3 separate regions of the Homo sapiens genome follow, and regions 1 and 2 are each linked to region 3. The links are contacts of gene promoters, found by promoter capture Hi-C in human tissues and cell types (Jung and others, 2019). All regions are on one chromosome and are shown on one strand. Each heading gives the region's core, a stretch centred on a gene start or on the middle of the fragment in contact. The rest is flanking DNA. Distances are from core to core; before and after follow the strand shown. Region 1 has its middle 21 kb from the start of SDHAF1. Region 2 holds the start of LOC101927522 (a long non-coding RNA gene). Region 3 holds the start of ZBTB32 (zinc finger and BTB domain containing 32).

Region 1 (3,760 bases), core at 924-3,423, 270 kb before region 3:
ATGGTTGTTGAATGAGGAAATGGAATTATTGGCTCAGAACTGGGTTCCAAGATCCCAGAGTCTGACACTTCTGGTACACTGGGGCTTGCCCTTGAGATTCTAGGATTTTGTTTTTGACAGAGTCTTGCTCTGTCGCCCAGGCTGGAGTGCAGTGGCACAATCTCGGCTCACTCCAATCTCCACCTCCTGAGTTCAAGCGATTCTCCTGTCTCAGCCTCCCTAGATTCTGGGATTATAGGCACCTGCCACCACACCCAACTAATTTTTGTATTTTTAGTAGAGATGGGGTTTCATCATATTGGTCAGGCTGGTCTTGAACTCCTGACCTCAGATTATCCGCCTGCCTCAGCCTCCTAAAGTGCTGGGATTACGGGCATGAGCCACCGCGCCTGGCAGGACCCTGTCTCTTAAAAAAGGAAGAAGCAGCCTGTGTCGCAGGCACAAGTATGCCCGCAGGGCAGTGGTAACCCCCAGTGGGCCTGCCTGTGGGGGGTCTCTGGACAGGATAAGCCACATGGCTCATAGTGATTGTTTTCGGGGCACTCAATAGCTGCAGGGGCAGGAGTGGGGATGGAGAAAGACAGGAAGGGAAAGGTATTCACACCAGGACTCCCAGGTCTGGTTTCCAAGACCCAAGCATTTGGCCACCCCTATAGTGCAAATGTCCCTGCTCTCAGCTTCCAGGAATCCCTACCAACATCCTGTGGTCCTCACCCTCTAGAATGGAGCTCTCCAGGCAACAGACCCAGCAATCCCTGCCTCACAGAGTAAAGAAGTCTCTGTGCTAAGAAACCAGAAGTCCACTCCCCAGAACATAGAAGTCTGGCTCTGGGACAGGCGTAGTGGCTCACATCTGTAATCCCAGCATTTTGGGAGGCCAAGGTGGGAGGATCACTTGAGCTCAGGAATTAGAGACCAGCCTGGGCAACATAGGAAGACCTCATCTTTACAAAAAAAATTAAAAAATTATCTGGGCATAGTGGCACATGCCCGTGGTCCCAGATACTTGGGAAGCTGAGGAGGGAGGATGGCTTGAGCCTGGGAGGTTGAGGCTGCAGTGAGCTATGATAGTACCACTGCACTCCAGCCTTGGCAACAGAGTGATACCCTGTCTAAATAAACAACAGAGTGACATCCTGTCTAAATAAATAAATAAGTCTGGCTCTGGGACTCAGAGCGCTCACCCCAGATACTGGAGTTGTCACCACCTAGGTGTTCTAGTCTCTAGAACTTGAGAACCCAGCAGTCCCAGCCCTATAGCCAAGTTGTTCCCATGCCCAGGACCCAGAAGCCCTGGCCCCAGACCCAAAGAGCCCTGTCTCTGGGCCCTAGAATTATTTTCCCCGCACCCCCCAACTCAGCAGTCTTGCCCCCAGGACCCAGAGGCTGTCCCCTTCCAGGGACCCTACACCCTTGCCCCAGGAATCAGCCTCCAGAACTAAGGAGTGTCATTCCTAAGTCCCAGAATCCCCTTTACCCAGCAGCCTATAACCCTTTCCCTTGAAGGGTCACTCACGGCAGCCAGCCCAGAAGCTCGAGGGCTCAGTGTTGACACTGAGGCCTGACAGGGTGTACACAGACATGGAAGCACTCCCAAAGCGTAGGCAGGGAGCTGGGGAAGGGGCATATCCAGGCACGGCACTGGCCTCGAAGGGTGTAGGTGTCACACTTGGTGGCAGTGGCTAAGGGGCCCCTTTGGGGCTACAGGGACAGCACAGGGCCCCCAGTCTCCTGTGGGGACTAAGGCTTGGCTCAGGGTATCAGGTGGCTGCGGGGCCCAAATGCACGAAGACCAGTGGATCTGGACTGCCCATGTCATGGTCCTGCCTGAATGAAGTCACTGCACAGTCTGCCTTGTGTGAGTGGCAACCTTCAGCCACGTGCAGTGACGTGTGTGCTGCCGGTTGTAAAAGAGATGCAGTGTGGGCGGTTCTTGCTCCAGACCTGCCTCTGCCCATGGTTCTGAGGTGTGGAAGTACAACCATAGCCATCTGTCGCCCAGGATAACTGACAGCCCCAGCTGCTGTGGGTTCCCCTGCAGGAGTGACCAAGAGCTGGGGTCTTCAGAGGGGCTGAATTCCTGAGCATCGGGGAGGGGTGGAGGATAAGGAGGTTGAGGGGGTTGGATTCTGGGATATTGAGAGTGGGGCCTTTGCAGATCTAGGATGCCCCACCCTCGTCTACTAACCAAGAATCTTTCTTTTTCTTCTTCTTCTTCTTTTTTTTTTTTTCGAGACAGAGTCTCACCCTGCCGCCCAGGTTGGAGTGCAGTGGCACAGTCTCGGCTCACTGCAAGCTCCGTCTCCTGGGTTCACGCCATTCTCCTGTCTCAGCCTCCCCAGTAGCTGGGACTACAGGCGCCTGCCACCACGCCCCGTAATTTTTTGTATTTTTAGTAGAGACAGGGTTTCACTGTGCTAGCCAGGATGGTCTCGATCTCCTGACCTTGTGATCCGCCCACCTTGGCCTCCCAAAGTGCTGTGATTACAGGTGTGAGCCACCGTGCCCAGCTAACCAAGAATCTTTCTGTGTGTGTGTGTGTGTGTGTGTGTGTGTGTGTGTGTGTGTGTGTGTGTGTGTGTTTAAGTAGAGACGAGGTTTCGTCATGTTGCCCAGGCTGGTCTGGAACTCCTGAGCTCAAGCAGTCTGCCCACCTTGGCCTCCTAAAGTGCTGGGATTGTAGATGTGAGCCACCATGCCCAGCCTCTATCCGGGAATCTTTTTTTTTTTTTTTTTTTTTTTTGAGACAGAGTCTCGCTCTGTCTCCCAGGCTGGAATGCAGTGGCGAGATCTTGGCTCACTGCAACCTCCACCTCCCAGGTTCAAGCAATTCTGCTCTCTCAGCCTCCTGAGTAGCTGGGATTACAGGCGTGCACTACCATGCCAAGCTAATTTTTGTAGTTTTAGTAGAGACAGGGTTTCACCATGTTGGTCAGGCTGGTTTTGAACTCCTGACCTCGTGATCCGCCCGCCTTGGCCTCCCAAAGTGTTGGGATTACAGGCGTGAGCCACTGTGCCCGGCCTTCTTTTTTTTTTTTTTTAAACTGGGAGTCTTGATTTCAATATCCAGATTTGTCCTAACACAATACTTGCAAGTCCTCTTCTCAGGAATCTAGATGAGTAATCCTACCAAGGAGCCAGGTGTGCCCACCTCATCCAGTAAACAGGAGAGCCTTCAGACAGGACCCAAGGGCTTCCCCCATTACCAAGAGCCTCCACCTGTCCTTCCAGATCAAGGGGTACCTCCTTTCTCCCAGTCCATGATTTCCTTATTTTGCCTCACTTGGTGGTTTCCAGCCCACATTTCTCCTGCGTTCACTGCCCCACCCTGGTCCAAGCCCCATTGTCTCCTGCCGGGACTACTGCAGCAGCCTCCTCACTGTTGTTCCTCCAGGCCTCATTCCTTCACAAGCCCTGTAATCTGTTCTCAACTGGCAGCCACAGGGATGTTGTTAGTGTCTGATATAGTTTGGCTATTTGTCCCTGCCCAAATCTTGGCAGGGCGCAGTGGCTCACGCCTGTAATCCCAGCACTTTGGGAGGCTGAGGCAGGTGGATCACCTGAGGTCAAGAGTTCCAGACCAGCCTGGCCAACATAGTGAAACCCCGTGTCTACTAAAAACACAAAAATTATCCGAGTGTGGTGGCATGTGCCTGTAGTCCCAGGCTACTTGGGAGGCTGAGGCAGGACAATTGCTTGAACCTGGGAGGCAGAGGTTGCAGTGAGCCAAGATCTCACCACTGCACTCCAGCCTGGGCAA
Region 2 (3,968 bases), core at 153-2,652, 270 kb after region 3:
GCGCATGCCAACACACCCAGCTAATTTTTATATTTTTAGTAGAGATGGGGTTTCGCCATGTTGGACAGGCTGATCTCAAACTCCTGACCTCAAGTGATCTGCCCACCTCCGCCTCCCAAAGTGCTGGGATTACAGGCATGAGCCACCATGCTCGGCCTTGTTTCTATTTTCTTTGACACAAGCACTGTTTATCTTCCAGTGTAAGAACGCAATCAACCATAGCACTGTGGGATAGCAGCCAGGAGGCTGGCTGTATCCTGCTGCAGCAGCCACCACACATGGAGGGCGGAGGGACAGCCACCCTGTTGTGTAGCTCGGAGCAGCTGTGTCCTTCAGTGCAGGTCCAGCCAAGAGCCGTGGGCCACAGATGACGCTGGTGGGGAAGCAGAGGGCAGACTAGGCAGAGGCAAGGCTTTCCTGTGCCCTGAGCTGTCAGAGATGGGCCAGGGCCTTCAGCTTCCTCGATAGGGCAGAAGTGACCACGCTGGCTCCATTCAGCAAAGGACGTGGACGGAGCTGCCGGGCTTGTCTGAGAGGAGGAGAAATGTGGAATTGAGTGAGGCTCTCTAAGAAGGTTCTGCTGGAGTTGAGAAAAATTAGGGTGAGGCACCTCCCCGATTTTATGTCCTTTTTCCTGGGTCCAGCCTCCTGAACAGCTACCATTCGCTTCTGTGAGACACCTGTCGGTGCCTCCTTTTCCAGCCCTTAATGGAACGGTGAGTGAGGTTCCCTGACTGGGGTGGAGTCTGCTTGTGAGTTTCCCCATCCCATGTCTCTCTGACTCCTGCTCCAACTCCTTACTTCGCCAGTTCCTCTCCCAGCCACCTCAGACTTCCCATACCACCCTCCCTGGACAGGAAGCGTTTTTACAGGAGTTTGAAGCTTCAGGAGTGCCCTCCGGCCACATGAAGACAAGGCGCTAACAAACATGGCGTTCTGCAAATTGCACCATCGCCAACTCCTGTCTTACTCTCACAGAGGTCTCTTGGGCTCTTCTGAGAAGGGTGAATGAACTTGGTTGGAGGGAAGAGAGGGGTTTGGTGGCTCTTAGTAAAATTGCTTCACGCAGTGACCTTTGGCAGTTTAGGATAATAACCTGTGCAGAGAGAGGGTCTCCTGTCCTGAAGTCACAGCCCGGATCTCCAGGCTGGCTCTGCTGCCTCTGAATGATTTGTGGGTCACACACGCCAACAGCATCGCCAAGGGCTGACATCAGCCTGCTTGAGCCACGGAAACTGAATGGGCAAGGATGAGTTCCCCAGCACAGAGGGAGGCATCCTCTGTCAAGACCATCTGCGCATGTGCTGTGCAGTCTCCAGTCTGCACTGTGAGGTTAGTACTTCTTCCTCTCTCTAGAAAGTGTAATGGGGGCCAGGCATGATGGCCCACACCTGTAATCCTAGCACTTTGCGAGGCTGAGGTGGGCGGATTGCCTGAGCTCAGGAGTTTGAGACCACCCTGGGCAACATGGTGAAACCCTGTCTGTACTAAAATACAAAAAAATTTAGCTGGGTGTGGTGGCGGGCATGTGTAATCCCAGTGACTCAGGAGGCTGAGGCAGGAGAATCGCTTGAACCCGGGAGGCAAAGGTTGCAGTGAGCCGAGATCATGCCACTGTACTCTAGCCTGGGCAAAAGAGCGAGACTGGCTCAAAAGAAAGCATAACAGAATACTCATAACTGACAGTGACGTTGTAACAGCTTACCTTATATCCTCTCATTTCTTTGTTTACTTAAACTTCCAAAGCCTAGTTTTTTCAGTATTACCAGGAACCATGGACTTACATTTCTTGCCTCTTGGTGTGTTGCCACATCCCAGCAGTGTGTCTCAACGGCTTTTGAGAACTGCTTCGAGAGGGGACCAGATGCGCAGAGACAAGCTTCCAGCCTGGCTAGGGACGGACCCTCTGGGGATGCTCCTCTCTGGCCGGGCAGCAGTAGAAGCACCTGCCTCCATCCACATCCAGACGCCATTCCCTTTTCTTCACCGCTGCTTCCCATCAGATGGTCCCCAGGAGTGGCAACCTCCCACTTGGTCTCGCAGGAGTCCCAGTGCTTCTCAGGTGTGTGTGCCACATCCCTCTTCTCTGAACACACAGTGGTCAGGGTGCCTGCACAGGGAAGGGCACCACAGTCCACCCTGGGAAAGGTCTTCAGTCTTCGGGAAAGAGCCTGTAAGCACCTTGACTGCTCTTCTTCTCTAGGGCAGAGAGCTTTCTTATCCACAGGGGTCCTTAGTCAGAGAGAGGGAGCGCACTCGGTGAGCTCTTTCAGAGGCAGCAGAGCCCTCTGCCTCTCCCCAAATCCCTGCTCCTACAAGTCGAATTAATCTCTCCTAGAAATCCAAGTCCTAACTTCTTCCAGGCGTCTTTTTACATCCACTGTTTGCATAGCCCACCCTTTCTTCTTTGGAGGATCCCCTCAGGTAACTTCCATCTGCTCCTCAGTGTGTCTTACCCCTTCCTTCTGTTCTTTCTTCACCTCCCTCCCTCTCCACCTCCACACTGGACTATATCAAATTCCTGTTCATTTTTTAGCATGGCCCAGTCAAAGCAGGTTAATCTCTCAGTCAGCAGAGGACATTTCACAAAAATTGGGGCCGCTAAATCACAAAAATATTCTCTAAGTCCAGGGCCAGCCCAGAAAAAATGCCCCAAGTCCAGGCAGCCCCCCAGAGTCTGCCGCCGTCTGGAAAATCCGGCTCAGCTCTTGCTCCTGCACATCCTCTCCTTTCCAGTGCTCTGTGTCTGGTCCCTGTCCCACCTCCTCTCCTTTCCCCAGTGTCTTCTGTCTGAATTCTGTGGGCCCAGGACAGCCCCAGCCTTCTCAAAGTCACCTGCATGTCTCTTGGATTAGGCAGCTGAGTGCAAGGTAACAACCAGATCATGCATTTTCATCTCTCCATGGATGGTTGGGGATAGAGCATCACAAGACAGGCATTGTGGCTGGGTGTGTTGGCTCATGCCTATGATCCCAGCACTTGGTGGGAGACCAAGGCAGGTGGATTGCTTGAGCTCAGGAGTTCAAGACCAGCCTGGGTAACATGGTGACACCTGATCTCTACAAAAAAATACAAAAATTAGCCAGATGTGGTAGTGCATGCCTTTAGTTCCAGCTACTCAGGAAGCTGAGGTCAGAGGATCACTTGAGCCCAGGAGATCAAAGCTGCAGTGAGCCTAGATTGTGCCACTGCACTCTAGCCTGTGGGACAGAGTGAGACCCTGATTTTTTTTTTTTTTAAAGGCAGACATGGTTCTTGCCTTCATGAAATTGACATTGTAGTTGTGGGGAGGGGTGAGACACTAGTACAGTCTCTACAGTAATATAGGAGGTAATGTGGGGCACGCTTTCGGAAGGAAATAGAATTGGATGATAGAATAGGGTAATCTGTGCTGGGGGCAGCAGGGAAATGTCCTTGAAGGGGTGACATTTGAGCCGAGGCCTGTAGGTGCTCTCCATGGAAGAGCTGGGAGAGGAACACTCGGGGCAGATGGGACATTTTTTGCAAAGGCCCTGAGGCGATACGAAGCTTGGTGTGATGGAGAAACCGAAAGGAGGCCAGTGTGGCTGGGGGGGTGGGGTGGGAATGAGCATGAGGGAAGTGATGGGAAACCAGGTCAGAGACGTGACAGCTGGGGGTGGAGGGGGTGGAGGGAAAACACATGGTGCAGGGCCCTGTTGTCCAAGGTGAGGATTTGGATTTTATTCCCAAAGTCATAGGAAACTCTTGAAGGGTATAAGGCAGAGGAGTAAGTGATCTGATGTATGGGTTTCATTTCTTTTATCATGTTTTATTTTCTTTCTTTATTTTTGTATGATGTGTGGGTTTTAAGGATTCCTCTGGCTTCCTGTTTTGTGCAAGTGTCTTGCCCCACTGTCTGTCAAAACTTTCTTCTTTCCCTGCCATTAGGGAAGCCCTCATGATTCAGCAGCTGCTCATTTCTCTTTCTCTCTCTCTCTCTATCTCTT
Region 3 (3,578 bases), core at 602-3,101:
TATCTCACACACCTCTTCCTGTGCTCCACTACGATGTTCATCCTCCCCATGCACCTGCCCCGCACCTACAGCCTGATATCTTCATCTTCTAGGAATTATCAGAACAGGCATGGGAAAGAGTGGGACAGGGAGAATGAAAAGCTCCAGACATGACCCAATTCCAGTTTTTTTTTTTTTTTTGAGATGGAGTTTCGCTCTTGTTGCCCAGGCTGGAGTGCAATGGCACGATCTCGGCTCACCGCAACCTCCGCCTCCCAGGTACAAGCGATTCTCCTGCCTCAGCCTCCCTAGTAGCTGGGATTACAGGCATGTGCCACCACGCCCAGCTAATTTTGTATTTTTAGTAGAGATGGGGTTTCTCCATGTTGGTCATGCTGGTCTCAAACTTCTGACCTCAGGTAATCCGCCCGCCTTGGCCTCTCAAAGTGCTGGGATTATAGATGTGAGCCCCCACGCCTGGCCCTGCTTTTTTTTTTTTTTAATTAATTTTTTTTTTTTGAGACAGAGCATTGCTCTGTTGCCCAGGCTGGAGTGCAGTGGTGCGATCTCTGCTCACTGCAACCTCCGCCTCGTGGGTTCAAGGGATTCTCCTGCCTCAGACTCCTGAGTAGCTGGGATTACAGGCACCTGCCACCACACCTGGCTAATTTTTGTATTTTTAGTAGAGACAGGGTTTCACCATGTTGGTCAGGCTGGTCTCGAGCTCCTGACCTGGTGATCCACCCACCTCAGCCTCCCAAAGTGCTGGGATTACAGGTGTGAGCCACCACGCCTGGCCACCCAATCCCAGTTCTGTACAGAGCCACCACAAGGCAATAATACTTCATCCAGCGCAAACAGCTCGGCTGGGATTCAGAATCCTTCTCCCTAGAATCTCCAGAGGATTACTGGCCTAACCTCTTGGCCACATCATCCAACCTGGACTCCATACTGGGAAATCTGCCAAGAACATCTCAACCTGGAGTCCAGAACATTCACTCCCAGCCCAGGCTGGCTCCAAAGACCCCAGGAAACCTTCATGTGCACACTAGTTTCATCTCTTGGCCAGTGACTTCCTACATAACTTTTTTTTTCTTTTCATTTTTTTTCTTGAGACAGGGTCTCATTCTGTCGCCCAGGCTGGAGTGCAATGGCGTGATCTCAGCTCACTGCAACGTTCATCTCCTGAGTTCAATGAGTTCAAGCGATTCTCCTGCCTCAGCTTTCTGAGTAGCTGGGATTACGGACGTGTGCCACCACGCCCAGGTAATTTTTTTTAGAAACCCCGTAGAGACAGGGTTTCTCCATGTTGGCCAGGCTGGTCTCAAACTCCTGACCTCAAATGATCCACCTGCCTCAGCCTCCCAAAGTGCTGGGATTACAGGCGTGAGCCACCGCGCCCAGCCCCTGCATAACCTTTGGAGATCCACAGGCCTCTCCTTTCAGTCACCGGATCCAGGCTCAGTCCAGAGACCCTTGATAAGCTCTCATTGTCCGGAGGCCATACCTCATGCAGAGTTAAGGACCTCCAACTTCCCCACAACACCCTTCCTACTCAGGCTGGCCTCGGGGGCCGTGGACCAACTCAGAGAGCAAGCTGGCTTAGCCTCTGCCAAACCTAGGCCTAAAGGTGGCCAGGAGGCTGCATTTCCAGCCTCTCAAAGGCAGAGGAAAGCCCCAAGGGCTAAAGCCCTCAACCCGCACTTCCCAATCATCAACGAGGTCCAGTCAAGCCCCCATACCCCAGATTTGCCTGGGCCGGGCCCAAGCCCAAGAAAGTAAAGTAAGAAAAACTATGGCACTCACCGGCCCAGACCCTGTTCCTCCTTCCCTTTCAGCCTCACATACACCCAGGACGGCTTAAGGCCGAGTGACCGTTAAAAGTGGGGAATGGAGCGAGGCCAGGGACGCAACGCTCCCGCACGTGGTCACCCCTGGATCCTGAGGCGGACGCTGATTGGCTGCAGCGCGGGCCGCATTCTCCCGCTCAGGCCAGCTGAGCACGCTGGGCAGCCTGGGAGGCACCTAGGACAGCGCCACTCCCGCGCGTCTGCCTCGGACCCGCAGCTGATTGGCTGTGAAGGGGCAGAGCCTTGAGTCTCATTGGTCCATAGGCTTCAGGCCTCTTAGGCTGAGATTTCATTGATTTCCAGCCGGGCCCCAGCGTTGATCTGCTGTGGAGTCTGCCTTTTCCCACTCTCTCCACGAAGAGACTGGACCCTGATTCTCCTTCACCTGAACAGCCCTGGAGGCTCCCTCAGCAAGTGCTCAGGAGTACTACTGTCCTTTTTTTTTTTTTTTTTTTTGAGACAGAGTCTCGCTCTGTCGCCCAGGCTGGAGTGCAGTGGCGCGATCTCTGCTCACTGCAAGCTCCGACTCCCGGGCTCACACCATTCTCCTGCCTTAGCCTCCCAAGTAGCTGGGACTACAGGCGCCCGCCATCACGCCCGGCTAATTTTTTGTACATTTAGTAGAGATGGGGTTTCACCATGTTAGCCAGGATGGTCTCGATCTCCTGACCTCGTGATCCACTCGCCTCGGCCTCCCAAAGTGCTGGGATTACAGGCGTGAGCCACCACGCCCGGCTTTTTAAAAAATTATTATTTCATTTTTATTTTATGAACGGGGTCTCCCTCTGTTGCCGGTGCTGGGGTGCAATGGTGCAATCATAGCTCACTGCAGCCTCGAACTCCTGGGCTCAAGCAATCCTTCCACCTGGGCCTCCCAAAATTCTGGAACTACAGCCGTGAGACACCGTGCCTGACCTGCCTTTCTTGCTTCTATTTTGCCACCCTAAGTAGCTCCCATTTGCAAACCCTGTCACCTTTCTCTCAACCCTTTACCATCTGTGAGGTGTGTAGGGGGTGTGTAGGCTGCCGCCACACCTGATTGGCTGGGAGGCCCGTAAGAGCAAGCCAAGGCCAGGCACGGTGGCTCATGCCCGTAATCCCAGGGCTTTGAGAGGTCCAGGTGGTAGTAGGATCGCTTGAGCCCAGGAGGTCGAGGCTGCAGTGAGCTATGATCACACCACTGCACTGCAGCCTGGGCGACACAGTGAGGCCCTGTCTCTAATAAATAAATAAAAATAAAATAAAAGAGCCAGCCAGGCAGGGCACGGTGGCTCACGCCTGAAAACCCAGCACTTTGGGAGGCCGAGGAGGGCGGATCACCTGGGGTCAGGAGTTCGAGATCAGCATGACCAACATGGTGAAACCCCGTCTCTACTAAAAATACAAAAATTAGCTGAGCGTGGTGGCGGGCGCCTGTAATTCCAGCTACTCGGCAGGCTGAGGCAGGGGAATCGCTTGAACCCCGGGAGGCGGAGATTGCAGGGAGCCTATATCGCGCCACTGCACTCCAGCCTGGGAGACAGAGCGAGACGGCGTCTCAAAAAAAAAAAGAGCCAGCCAGGCTTCGGTGCCTGTGAACAGCTCCCTTTTCTCTCTTGTCCCACTCCACCACGATTGCTGGCACAGCTCACTCTGCCTCGCCTGGAAGCCTGGAAGTGTACAGGGACAGGAAAGACACAAGAGGGGGGCAGTGCCTTGCCCCGTGATTGGCAGCGTGACACTTGCACTTCCAATTCCCACTGCCACCTC

Evidence for each region. The method cuts DNA at HindIII sites, captures the fragments that hold promoters and counts their contacts. A contact is called where the count stands out against the background at its distance.
Region 1: a fragment that was not itself captured here is called in contact with the fragment with the promoter of ZBTB32 in region 3 in 4 of the 25 tissues and cell types used here (dorsolateral prefrontal cortex, heart right ventricle, lymphoblastoid cells and 1 more).
Region 2: a fragment that was not itself captured here is called in contact with the fragment with the promoter of ZBTB32 in region 3 in 1 of the 25 tissues and cell types used here (spleen).

What each region holds. Positions count from the first base shown.
Region 1 is chr19:35,971,845-35,975,604 of GRCh38, reverse strand. No RefSeq gene overlaps it. Among named protein-coding and RNA genes, the nearest start is that of SDHAF1, 21 kb to the left of the region's middle. RefSeq lists a silencer at 1,851-2,051. The HindIII fragment of the contact is 9,546 bases long and covers 1-3,760 here.
Region 2 is chr19:35,430,953-35,434,920 of GRCh38, reverse strand. LOC101927522 (a long non-coding RNA gene) reads left to right here and starts at 268. Exons shown (of 7, transcript NR_187751.1): 1 at 268-601; 2 at 1,083-1,332; 3 at 1,819-2,062. RefSeq lists an enhancer at 828-2,027. The HindIII fragment of the contact is 5,373 bases long and covers 1-3,968 here.
Region 3 is chr19:35,702,831-35,706,408 of GRCh38, reverse strand. It overlaps ZBTB32 (zinc finger and BTB domain containing 32), which reads right to left and starts at 1,851. Exons shown (of 7, transcript NM_014383.3): 1 at 1,786-1,851. The HindIII fragment of the contact is 13,873 bases long and covers 1-3,578 here.